5 separate regions of the Homo sapiens genome follow, and regions 2, 3, 4 and 5 are each linked to region 1. The links are contacts of gene promoters, found by promoter capture Hi-C in blood cells and fetal thymus (Javierre and others, 2016). All regions are on one chromosome and are shown on one strand. Each heading gives the region's core, a stretch centred on a gene start or on the middle of the fragment in contact. The rest is flanking DNA. Distances are from core to core; before and after follow the strand shown.

What was found. Contacts are between HindIII fragments. The CHiCAGO score rates a contact against its expected background, and 5 or more counts as called.
Region 2: a fragment that was not itself captured here is called in contact with the fragment with the promoter of LINC01412 in region 1 in 1 of 17 cell types (neutrophils); the score reaches 6.1 in neutrophils.
Region 3: a fragment that was not itself captured here is called in contact with the fragment with the promoter of LINC01412 in region 1 in 1 of 17 cell types (non-activated CD4 T cells); the score reaches 5.2 in non-activated CD4 T cells.
Region 4: a contact is called between a fragment that was not itself captured here and the fragment with the promoter of LINC01412 in region 1, in 1 of 17 cell types (monocytes). The highest score is 6.8, in monocytes.
Region 5: a contact is called between a fragment that was not itself captured here and the fragment with the promoter of LINC01412 in region 1, in 1 of 17 cell types (neutrophils). The highest score is 5.0, in neutrophils.

The regions. Positions count from the first base shown.
Region 1 is chr2:144,520,595-144,523,132 of GRCh38, forward strand. It overlaps LINC01412 (long intergenic non-protein coding RNA 1412), which reads left to right and starts at 1,274. Exons shown (of 3, transcript NR_110570.1): 1 at 1,274-1,332. It overlaps ZEB2-AS1 (ZEB2 antisense RNA 1), which reads left to right. Exons shown (of 4, transcript NR_040248.2): 4 at 160-305. The HindIII fragment of the contact is 4,746 bases long and covers 1,115-2,538 here.
Region 2 is chr2:144,853,057-144,855,594 of GRCh38, forward strand. The region is part of intron 2 of TEX41 (testis expressed 41); the gene reads left to right. Among named protein-coding and RNA genes, the nearest start is that of LINC01966, 28 kb to the right of the region's middle. The HindIII fragment of the contact is 8,335 bases long and covers 1-2,538 here.
Region 3 is chr2:144,200,374-144,202,911 of GRCh38, forward strand. The region is part of intron 4 of QTMAN (queuosine-tRNA mannosyltransferase); the gene reads right to left. Among named protein-coding and RNA genes, the nearest start is that of QTMAN, 130 kb to the right of the region's middle. The HindIII fragment of the contact is 167 bases long and covers 1,194-1,360 here.
Region 4 is chr2:144,822,041-144,824,578 of GRCh38, forward strand. All of the region lies in intron 2 of TEX41 (testis expressed 41), which reads left to right. Among named protein-coding and RNA genes, the nearest start is that of LINC01966, 59 kb to the right of the region's middle. The HindIII fragment of the contact is 5,411 bases long and covers 1-2,538 here.
Region 5 is chr2:144,776,760-144,779,297 of GRCh38, forward strand. All of the region lies in intron 2 of TEX41 (testis expressed 41), which reads left to right. Among named protein-coding and RNA genes, the nearest start is that of LINC01966, 100 kb to the right of the region's middle. The HindIII fragment of the contact is 7,010 bases long and covers 1-2,538 here.

The sequences.
Region 1 (2,538 bases), core at 24-2,523:
AGGGAAAGATCCCGGGTCCTCAATCCAGATAGTCTCTTCTTATACAGATATCTCTAATGACCAGATTTGAGATGCACATCAAATTGTGTAGGTATCTCAGTACAGCTTCTGGAACAAAGTTCTCTGCCCTTTCTCTTATTGTTATTTTTTTCTTTTTAGGTACCAGAGCCAGAAAAAAAAATGCTGCATGGGAGCTGCATCTTAGGGCATGTGTATTAGGGTGTGTGCATGATGAATTTCTGGACTGGATCCCAATATTAAAAAGTAGTTTGGCATTTTAATAAAGGGTCTCTAAGTAAATTAAAATAGAACACTCGGTTGGCCGATCTCTGAATCTCTCTACACCTCGGGGAGACCTCACTACAAAGTAAGGGAGAGTGTGTAGGGAGGCAGGAGGAGAAACGAGAAAGGCCATAGAGAAACTTAGCAGGGAAGGGAGAGCATGATATTAAACGGCATGGGGTCTAAGTTTTGGAGTATATATTTTTTGATATTACAATTAAAGTAAGATTAAAAAGAAAAGACTCCACCTTTGCTCTGAAGGGATTGGTTATGCAAATATGGAAGGGATTTCCTGGAGAATACAGCTTTCTACTGTATGGTTAATTAAATAATCACTCAAAAGCTTCCAACGTGACGCTTCTGTCGTAATCCAATCAGGTTACATAGGTCCTAAACAAGAAAGATATTTTCCACATCTGGAAGTCAGCAATTTAGCAAGTACTGCACATTATTAACCAATTCAGAGCCCACTTCCCAGGGGAATTTTTTTGAAGTTTAAGTGTTCTTAACCAATGCTCTGCTGTTTTGTTAATCAAAAAGCTGGTTTACACTGCACATAATTGGAACTAATATAGAAGTAAATAAAGACAGCCAAATTTGAGGATGCTGAGCACAGGCATTTATCGGAAAAGGAAGAAATCTCCTATCCTCGGATGGTTCAGGCTCAATTTCTTAAATAACTGTGAGACTTTTTTTTTTTTCCTAAAGAGTGAAAGTGCTTGAGAACCTCAGAGCACAAATAAACTTCTAGCCTCACAGCATTTAGGATTCTTCGGAAAGGTAAAGGTGGAGGTGTTAAGAGGACCAGAGAGCTGCCTCACACCAATTTTTAAGCTTTAATATTGTTAAATATGTTACACCCTCCTGTTTCCAGTCTGATGAAATCTGAAACAAATAATACCCTGATCCAACACTATATTAAGATAAACTGCTTTGAACTGTGCTTTGAATGTGTGCCTAAAGCAAGACTTTGAATGCAAGAGTCACTGGCAATTGCACTCAAAGGAGGGACAAGCCACCACATGGGTTGCCACATCCACACTCCCAGAGGTATACGTCTTTGTATTTTGTATTTTTTTTTGCGGGGCGGGGGAGTGGGGTGGGGGTGGTTAATAGCTACCTAGCACGACCACAGCTAGATCTTGTTCTAGGATGCAAGAAAGTAGATTTTCACAGTTGGTTACTCACCTCTTTCCTAATTTAAGTATTTATTATAATGAAAATAGCTGCTGGATAAATTAACTCTCTCCCCCCACCCCATCACAGATAAAGTGTCTATAGAAGAAAGGCATTCAGGATCTTCAGCTTAAAAATTATTAATAAATAAAATCAAAGATTTTCAACATGGGTCAGGCACATTCTTAATTTTATATTTTACATTTCTTTCATTATTATATATCTATACTAAATATATGTGTGACTTATCAAGTTCCTCTTCTGAGATTTAGCACCACTGTTCATGTCCATTTTTCTTCCTCTTCCTTTTTTTCCTCTTTTTTAATTTAAAAGATTGGAATCCAGCTTTCTCTAGACGTTTGCTTTACAGCCACCCTTCCACCACTCCTAAGGAAGAAGGAGCCCTTTGCATAGAGTTATTACAGGCAAGACTCCTCTTCAGGCACCCAGGTAGCCATTGGAGGCTTACAGACCAGACACACACACAAGCATAACCTCAGGTCAAAGGATCCAATCGAATAGCTAACAAAACACTTGTCTTTATTATGTATATTAAATGTCAGGTTACTTAGGATCTGACTTAAAAAAAAAAAAAAAAACCCTAAGTATTTCCATTAAAAACACCTAATCATCTGATTACCCTGGACTCAGGAATTGCTCAAGTGGCAGGAGGCAGTCCCCAACATTTATCACTGGGAGTTCCGACTAGCCAGTATTTGATTTGGGGTGAAAAAGCAGTCTTCCAGGTTCCCATGAAGGTAGATATTTGGATGGTGGCACGGGAAGGGTCTCCGCGAGGGGTGAGCGCTGCGGCTAGGTTGCCTTGCCCCTGGTTCCTGACTGGCACGCCCCTCCCCAGGCATTTGGCCGAGAGAGTTCCCAACGTGGCAGAGGTGATGGGGTCGGGAGGAAGCCGGAATATAAATTTGTTCCGAACACTCCCTCAGTCCGAGGGCCAGTTCGGGGACAATGGGGATCGTGGGATCAGGAGGATGCAGGAGCACAGGACGCAGAGAAAAGTCGAGAGAGGACTGGGGGCTGCTGGCTTTCGGCTCCTCACACAGCAAAATAAGTCCTGCA
Region 2 (2,538 bases), core at 22-2,521, 330 kb after region 1:
AAACCCCAGGCCATGGGCTAGTACCAGTCTGTGGCCTGGTAGGAAGCAGGCTGCACAGCAGGAGGTGACCAGAGGTGGGTAGGCATTACCGCCTGAGCTCCACCTCATGTCAGACCGCGGCTGCATTAGATTCTCATAGAAGTGCAAACCCTATTGTGAACTGCACATGTGAGGAATCTAGGGTACACATTCCTTATGAGAATCTAATGTCTGATGATCTTCTGAGGTGGAACAGTGTCATCCTGAAATCATCCTCCCTGGTCCATGGAAAAATCATCTTCTACGAAACTGTCCCTGGTGCCAAAATGGTTGGGGACCACTGCTCTATGAGGTAGGTACTGTAAAACACCTCTAAAATACCAAAAGTGTGTCTAGAAAAATTAATCACAGAAAATGCAGGGTTGTATTATTGCAAAATCAATGAAAATAATGTTTTTTACTTGGCCTATTCTATCACAAAAAGCACAAAACTTGAGATGTTGAGATTTATATTAGAACAAGTGACCATATACTGACCTGAAAGAGTCCCACATGACGACAAGCAATCACTTATGCAACCCCAATCCTGTTTGGCCAGCCTTCATTTGAGGATGGGAACTGGGTGAAGACTGATAGCTAGTCACCTACAAACGTAATCAAATATGATTTTTCATTTTACCAGGGTTTTACTTAGTATGTGTGCTTATTTCATATATAATAACTAAGAATCAGAGAAGTTAACTAACTTATCAAAAATTACATAGTGATTGAGCTCAGATAAACACATATCTCTGGCATCCAAATTGAAGTCTATCTCTATGTTTGCAGGTTGATTTAATATCTAAAATACAAGTGAATAGAGAACATAATGATTGACTTCCTTCCAATCCCTTTTGTTGCTCCCTCTAGAATGTCCTTATGTGAACTTTTTCCCCATGGCCCCAGAGAGGAGTGAGGCCTGTTGAAGGTCATGATGAAAATGTTGAGGCCTGTCCTGCTTCTTTTTTTTACTCCTGAAATCCTGTTTTTGACTGCCATTAAGACTTTGGAATTGGTCTGGCTCATTTATTTAATTATTGTAAGTCGAATTTCCAAAATTTCTTAAAAATAAGACTTTGACCCATCTGGACTCCGGCCTCCCCTGTTCTGACTCTTGATTATTTTGCTTTCTATTGTTTAGTTTGGGACCTTTGGTCCTTTCTGTTTCCCTCTTCTACTTTTCACCCTAGCTTGGCTTTGTAGGTTCTTTCCACAAGTAATTTATTTGACCTGGGCTCTGGAATATGACCCTGAAACCTCTTCTTACCCAGACACACATCACTCTCTGGTATCCTCATGGATATCCCTTAACAGGCAGGAACTAGCAGAATTCATCTTATGTAAGATCTGTGACACAAATTAGGCACACATCGTAATATATAGGATTTTACCAGGGATAAGGCATTCCCTTTATTGGTTTCTTTTCTAAACTATAAATGAAACAGCCACCAGTGAAATAAAATATTCCTACTCAACCTTGTCTTGGAAAATCTAACATGTATGTCAGCACAGAGGCATTTTTTCAGACAAACATTAGTTGTCTTGAATTTGGAAAATTTGATCTTCTGATGGAAATAATCCTCAAATGTTATTTCTTTTCTGTCTTCTTTGATGTGCTACACTGAAGAAACTCTTCTAACGATTTCCTGGTGACTCGGGATCATCATAGTCAACATCAGCTATCTTGTTTGGCAAAAACTTCGTGATACCCTCACTAAAGGCATCTCTATTTAATGCAGAACAAAATATTTGTCACTCATATTTATTGTAGTGGTGTTCACACTTAGGCTAGTGATTGAAGCTCCTACACTAAATGACCCTAGAATGCTATGCAACTGATTGTTATCACTATTTTGTTTCATTTCTTCGTCTTTTCTGAAGCTGTCAGCTATTGTTTCTTGCTTTCTTCTGTAAGCCAGCCTTTAACAAAGGTTAGTGCTCTGCATCTAGAACAACAGTTAACAGGAGCAATTTTGCCCCTCAGGGCACACTTCGTAAGTATGGAGACATTTTTAATTGTCACTATTTAACAGCGGGGAGGACATTACTGGCATCTAGTGGGTGGAGGTCAGGAATGTTGCTAAACCTCTTATAATGCACAAGATAGACCTCCACAACAAAGATTATCTGGGTCAAAATGACAGTATTGTCCAGGTTGAGAAATGCCGTTCTAGGATTGTGGAAAAGTAAGTAAGTTCTAAAGGCAGACCCAAGAGGTTTGTTTAATGCTATTTTTAAAAAGTGTATAATGGTGGCCCATGGTCATTGTTAAGGTCAGGGTCTAGCTTCATTTACTTCTTAAGAACAAACATGTCCTTGTGGATTGAGGTCCTTTGACCTCCAGCTGAGTGAACCATTAGTATTTGCCCTTAAGTTAACATATTCAATACCTGTGTGCGCACACAAACTACTTTCCTTTAAAGAAGAGTAGTTTGCTTTTTTTTTTCTCTTCTGTAGTTAGGTGGCTCAAATGTCATTGCTACATTAAAAAATATATCATTCCAGTTTAAACACCATAGT
Region 3 (2,538 bases), core at 27-2,526, 320 kb before region 1:
TAAAATACAATCACATGAAATTTTACACAATATCACAGGCATGTTCTAGACCAGTGGTGTCCAATCTTTGGCTTCTCTCAGCCATGTTGGAAAAACAGTTGTCTTGGGCCACACATAAAATACACGAACAATAACAATAGCTGATGAGCTTAAAAAGAAATCTCATAATGTTTTAAGAAAGTTAGAAAATGTAAGAATTTGTGTTGGGCCGCATTCAAAGCTGTCCTGGGCCAAAGGCTAGACAAGCTTGTTCTAGACTAATGTTTCCTGAACTAAGAAACTTTTTTTCTAGAAATACTTTTATACAAGGGAAATTCCAGAAAATCATATTTTCTTTTGTCAAAATTTACATAACAGAAAATGGCAGCTTTCATAGTCTGATTAATATAACCCATGAAAGTGAAAAAAATGTGTATGGAATTCTTTGGTTTAATCCAGTAAAACTGAGTAACACCAGCCCTTAAGTGACTTGTTTCTGTGTTTCTATGTAGAAGAGATGATATCTTTAGGCAGAGGATACCGGTAGTGCGCAGAGCAGGAAAAAAGTAAGTAAATTAACAAAGTGAATGGCAACCATATTTTTCAAACTCTAATAACTCATTCCTTCGACCACATTTTCTAAGCAGCTATTATCTGCTAGGTGGCATACTAGGTATTAGGGATAAAACGATAAACAAGATAGATATGACTCTTGTCATCATAAAGCTTAGAATAAAATGGGGAGAAAAAAATCAAGCAAACAAAATTATTACAGGTTATATAAAATGTTATTACAGAGGCAGAAAAAGAGTGCTAAAATAGAGGTCTCATTTTAGATCGGGTGCTCAGGAAAGGACTCTCTGAAATGACGAAACTTTAGCTGACTTGAGAAAGCCATGAAGAACAAGGGGTGTGGGTTGGGGGCATGAGTAAGTATTGCCAACAAAGGGACCAGCAAGCAGTAATAGGACTTGAGGCAGGAAAAAGCTTGATGTTTCAAAGTGAGTAAACAAGGCCAGTGCTGCCACAGCACATTAACGAGAAGACAGGGGAGGAGATGATGTTGCAGAGGCAGACAGCGCCCAGATTGCGTGGACCACAGCAACCCTGTGCATACTCTGGATTTTACATAGGCAATAGGAAATCACGGATGGCTTTCAATCAGGGATTATTTAATCAAGGTTACAAGTATCAGCAAATGGATATAGGCACTAAGCTTTCTTTCAATCAACAAAGGGTTCACTAAGTGCTTGCTGTGTGCTAGCGCCATATGTCCATGTTTGTCAAGTTTGGCTTTGTATCACCAGTGCTAGCATAGGCACTGGCTTTTAACATAAAAGCTCTTAATAAATACTAATGATGGAAAAGAATAATGAAAACAAGCTTAGAAAAGAACCAAAAGATAACTAGTCTGGAGGAATTTTGACCAAGCCATCCCACCCCTCAATGCTCTCTCAACTACACATATTCAACCAGGAATTTCTCCTAAAGAAGGGGAGTGTTACATTTTTATTATCAGCATGAGATGGTGAACAAAGGAAAACATAGCAGAGACTTTAGGAAAAAATTCACTGAAATACAGAATTAAGTTCTTTAGAAAGACATAAGGATGAAATGACTGCACTTTTGTGAGCAGCATCTGTGACTCAGCTCCTACTCTCCCCTTGCAGTCATCTTTGTGGGATGGCAGCTCAGAAGACCAGCAGGTCCATGATGTGAACAAACACCAGGGCCTGAACAACAGAATAGTATAAATAAAGGAAAGATGAACAAGAATTAGTCATTAATGGAAAGGACAATGTGCCCCAAAGAGGGTAGTTGGCCAAATGTGACCCCAAGAAAACAAGAAAGCATGAAAGCTGCCTAAAGAAAGGATAAGGAAAGGAAAGGGCAACAGAGTATCTGCATCGTAGCTCTAGAGGCCCCATGTACAGGAAATCAGAGACAGTAGCAAAAGTAAACATATTGACTAAGACCTTAATAAAAGCAGAAAATCTTTCTCCTATAAACAAATAAATGTTGGAGATGAAAGTAGAATTAAATACATCTTTTATTTTTCTAATTTTTTTCCTGTCATATGGAGAACTAACCATGAAGACACTAAACACTTAAAAGCAACTAGGTAAGAAGTGCTCTAAAATCAGACTAATAGTCTCAATCATTATGTTAAAAACAAGCACATTAATTACAAAAGCAAAACTATGATGCTCCTTATTCTATAGTCAGAGGTCTTTTATATAGCATATTTTGCATCCATTTGGGGATGAGTTTTTTTCCCCGTTTATTTTCCATTCCATTCATTAAAAATAATGATTGTCTTCCCTCTGTAAAAGTATAATAAACATCCAGCTTGTCTTTTAAAACACAGTTGTCGAACTTTAAAGGGCAAATATACAGGAGATTTATCCTAGAGGTCTTTAAAGCAGAGTCTGTTAGGAATAATGTCTTGTATCCAGGGAGCCATATAGAACCTTACGTGTAATATTTTATTTTTTAAAATAAGCTAGAAAGGATATTAAAAGTGTCTACTTGAAGTTGCACTGAAGCGCTTAACTCCTG
Region 4 (2,538 bases), core at 14-2,513, 300 kb after region 1:
CCATACATATGTACAACTATTGTGTATCCATAAAAATTAATACAAAAAGAAACAGTATTTGGGAAACTTAAAAATATGTAAAAATTAAACACTCACACTCCTAAGTAATCACAGGGTAAAAAAAGAAATAAAAAGGAAAATTAGAAAATATTTTAAGATGAATGACTGTTAGACACAAAATACCAAAACTTATGGATTGCAGGTAATGCAGTCCTTAGAGGGAACTTTATAGCTTGTAAGTACCTATATTTATATAGAAGTAAGTTCTCAAATTAAGCATGTAACCTTGTACCATAAGACAATGGAAAAAGAAGAGCAACTACACAAGGATAATAAAGACTCAAGTGGAAATTAATAGAAAAGAGATTATCAATAGAGAAAATCAGTAAAATGAAAACCTGGTTATTGGAAAAGACTAAAAAATTGGCAAACCTTTGCTAGATCAAGAGGAAAAAAAGAGCAAAATTACATGAATCACAAATGGAAGAGGGCACATTACTACTGACCTTAGAGAAATAAAAAGGATTATAAAGGAATACTATGAACAATTGAATGCCAACAAATTATACAACTTTGATGAAATGGACAAATTCCAAGGAAAACCCAAACTACCAAAGCAACTAAAAAAGAAATAGATAATCTGAATAGACCCATTAGCAGGAAGAGAGATTGAATATTTACATAAGAATACCAAATCTTCACAAATTCATTAAAAACATAAAAAAGTGGGAACAATTTTCAGCTCATTCCATGAGGCCAATATTACCCTGCTAACAAAACTAAACAAAGCCATAACAAGAAAACTACAGACCAATATCTCTTATGAACATCAATACAAAAATCTTCAACAAAAAACTAGCAAACTGAATCCAGCAGTGTATAAAAGAATTATAACGTAAACAAGTGAGACATTGTAGGAACAATGTTGGTTTAACATCTGAAAATCAATTAATGTATTATATCATATCAATTTAATAAAAAACCAAAAAGCCCCACATGAAGATCTCAATAGATGCAGGAAAAGCATTTGACAAATTCAACACCATTTCATGGTAAACACACTCAACCTACTAGAAATAGAATGAAACTTCCTTAATCTGATGAAGGGCATCTGTAAAAAATTCACAGCTGACATCATACTTTATGGAGAAAGACAATACTTTCCCTCTAAAATCAGGAACAACACAAAGATACCCACTCTCACTATTTTTATTTAACAGGTTTTAGCTAGGGCAATTAGTCAACAAATAAAAGGTATCCAAATTGGAAAGGAAGAGGTAAAACTGTATTCACAGAATACATGATCTTATATGTAGAAAATCTTAAAGAGTTGACTAAAAAACTATTAGAATGAAGAAATGCATTCAACAAAGTTGTGAAAACACAAAATCAATACTCAAATATTGTATTTCTATACACTGTCCATAAATAGTATAAAATAAAAATTTTAAAAAATTTTATTTACAATAGCATCAAAAAGAATGAAGTATTTACGAATAAACACAACAAAGTAGAAAACTTACACTCTTAAACCTAAAATACGTTACTTAAAGAAATTAAAGAACATACAAGTAAATTGAAGAATACTCATGTTTTGCATCGGTAGACTTAATATTGTTAAGATACCTGTAATCTCCTAATCGCTCTACAGATTCAATGCAATCCTTGTCAGAATAGCAGCTGGCTTCTTTGTAGAAATTAAAAGTCTGATCCTAAAATCTGTATTGAATTTTGAAACACCAATATAAAACAATCTTTAAAAAGGAGAACAAAGTTGGAGGACTCACACTTCCCAATTTTGAAACAGAATATAAAACAAAAGTAATCAAGAAAGTGTGATACTAGCATCAAGATAGACATATACATCTATGGGGCAGGATAAAGAGTCCAGAAATAAACACATGGCTTCTATGGTTTACTGACTTTTGGCAAGGGTATTGAGGCTATCCAATGGGAAAAGAATACTTTGTTTAACAAATAGTGGTGGAACAACTGGATAGCCATAGGCAATACAATAAAATTACACTTTTACTTCATACTTTATTCAAAAATTAACTCAAAATTAGTCAAACATCTAACTGCTAAAACCATAAAACTCTTAGAAGAAAGCATAGAGGTAAATGGCCATGACTTAGATTTAGCAATGAATTTTTAGATATGACACCAAAAGCATAAGCAAAGGCAAAAATAATTGATAAATTAGACTTCATAAAAATTCACATTCAAGAAAGTGAAAAGACAAAGCCCAGAATAGGAAAAAATATTTGTAAATCATATATTTGTTAAGGGACTCATATCCAGAATATATAAAGAATCGTTACAACTCAATAATAAAAAGACCCAATTGACAAATGGTTAAAGAGGCTTAACAGATATTTCTCCAAAGAAGATATACAAATGGCCAATAAGCACATGAAACTTTCTTGACATCATTTGTCATCAGGGAAGTGAAAATCAAAACCACAATGAAATACCACTTCACACCCAGTAGGATGGCTATAATAAAAAAGTCAGATAATGGCATTGGTTGGTGAGGAT
Region 5 (2,538 bases), core at 28-2,527, 260 kb after region 1:
AGACAGTAGCAAAGATGATGATCAGAGTTGGTGAAAGAAAGATTATTGATCATCTGGCTCTATCAGTCACAAACAGGGAAGAAGAAAACAAAAAGGAGGAAAAGGAGATTAAAGAAACAAAAAATAGTTTAGTAATGCCAGCTGATTCTGTTGCTAATTATAAATCTTTGGCAAGAAGCCTTAGCTATACAGTAACTCTCCAGTTATCTGGTGGTCAGATTTCCAGCAATCTTTACCACTCAGAACACAGATGAGATCCTGGAATTGTATCTCTCATAGCCCTGGCTGCATAGGAACAACTTTCTTTTCTGGATGCATTCAGCTATTCCCTGGAAGGTTTATTAAACTGATTATGCATATACATTTAAGATTGCTTATTTAATATATCTGTTTGTCTGGATTTTTAAAGCCCCTTTAAGTTCTTCTCCAGGTTATGGAGGGAAGTGGAAATAGGGAGGGGGTAAAATGCACTGGGGATGGGGGAAGGACGTGCAGGTTAGCAGGCTATAAAATAAATAAAATAGACATGAATAACTATTATTTTGCAGACAATGAGTATTCAAGAGAGAGATTGCTCAATTGTCTTGATACTTAGAAGAAGGAAAGATAGCTCTTAGCTGTGGAATCCAAGAAAGTCTTCATGGAGAGGGGACATTGTTGTCGGGCCTAGGGGTTATCTAGGATTGAAAAAGGTGGGAACTGGGAGATGGACATTCGAGAAGCCTTGGGGTAATGACCCAGGGATAATAATATTAGGAATCATTAATGAAGTGCTGAAAATTTGGTTGAAGCATAAGGTGAATCTATGAGAGTCATGGAAAATATGGCTGAAGTAGAAATAAAGACCAGGCTATGGAGACTTTTGAACGCCAAACTCAAGTTTTCAGACTTCATTGTAGGCCATTAGAGCTACTGAAAGCATTTGATCAGGGGAGTTGGGATGCTAGGGTTGTTTTGCCAGGGTTGGGACAAGCATATTGGGAGAGTGGAGACAGTAGAGTGGGCAATGTACTACTTGAACTTAGGAGCATTCAGCAGATGACTAGCCCATTGTGGGGGATCACAGGAGAGGCTGGAGAGAGATTTGGAGTCAACTAAGTAGGGGCTAAAAGCAATAGTTAAATTCAAAGATCAGATGAGATTATTGAGGGAAAGAATGTAAATAATGAAAGAACGAGGAATGACAGATCCTTGGAATCTCTATTAGAACAGTACTGGAGGAGTTTGAGAAGTTATATATAGAGAGTATAACAATTAGGAAGGAGGAACATAGACTGCAGTGTTGTAGAAAAGGAAGAGTAGAAGAGGAAGGAGCAAAGAACTAACACACATTGAGTATCAACTCTATATCCAGATCCAGATGTATGCAATGTTATTTAATCTTTCCATGCATCCTATTAGAGATATATTCTTACCCTAATTTTACAAAGGAAGAAATTGATGTTCAGAGGGGTTAGGTTACATGTCCAAAGCCACCAAATAGCAAGTAGCTGAACTGTGATTTATGCTCAAGTTTATTTGATTCCAAAGCCTATGCTTTTGCACTGTTAAATGCTGCCAACAGGTTGAAGCATCTAAGAGAAGAGAAAGGGTTGTTTGACTGGTTTACCTCAGGAGAGTTGTGAGAGCAGAAGCCATATTTCACAATAATAAGAGATAAATGGGTGATGGATTCAATTTAGTTCACATACTGTTTATTGGGCATCTGATGTGTAATGAGGAAATTTTCCAGCTACTGGAAGTCCAAAAACCAATAGAGCTGAGTCCTTGCTCTCAAGGAGTATGAAATTTGGGAGGGACAAAACACACACATAGATCATTTCAATATAATATGGTGTCTGCTTTGAGAACACAGTTTGTCCTTTCAAGAAACAGAATAAAAATTTAATAAAAAGAGCAGAGTAAAGAGTTTTTACATTTTTAAGATAATGTGAACTTGAAGATGTTTGTAGATTGATTGGATGGTGCATTGGTGAAGGGGCCAGTGAAGATGTTAAAATAAGAGCAGATAAGAGGAGAATGGCAGACATATGGGATTGGGAGGGTGGGCAGTAGACTTGAGAAAAAAACAGAATAATCTGATAATATTCATGGATATATTTAATAGATGCCCATTACTATCTTTGCATATTCTATGGAAAAGTAACTGACCTGAGAACATTAACTTAATATTTTGTTTTGGATCAATATTGTTTGTTAGGCAGGCTACTCTGCCACCTTTGGCCACCCTTGGTGTTCCATTTATAGCGGGCATAAACTCTGAGCAGTCAAGTTCAAGGTCGAAAAAGTCCTTTTAATGTATTTGTGCTTAGGAAGCAAAAGTTGAAAACCACATCTGGGGCAGATAGAAGAGTCTAAAGATGATTATATGAGTTTCAAATTCTGGCCAATTTTTAAACATAAGGCAAACAAACAGATACACAAATTATATAGAAGTATCTATTTTGTTTAATCATTCTAATTTTAAAGGGTAAATAATTAAAGTACATTTCAATACTGTGATTAGAGGCCACAAAAACTTTGTCCAAAAAACAGTGC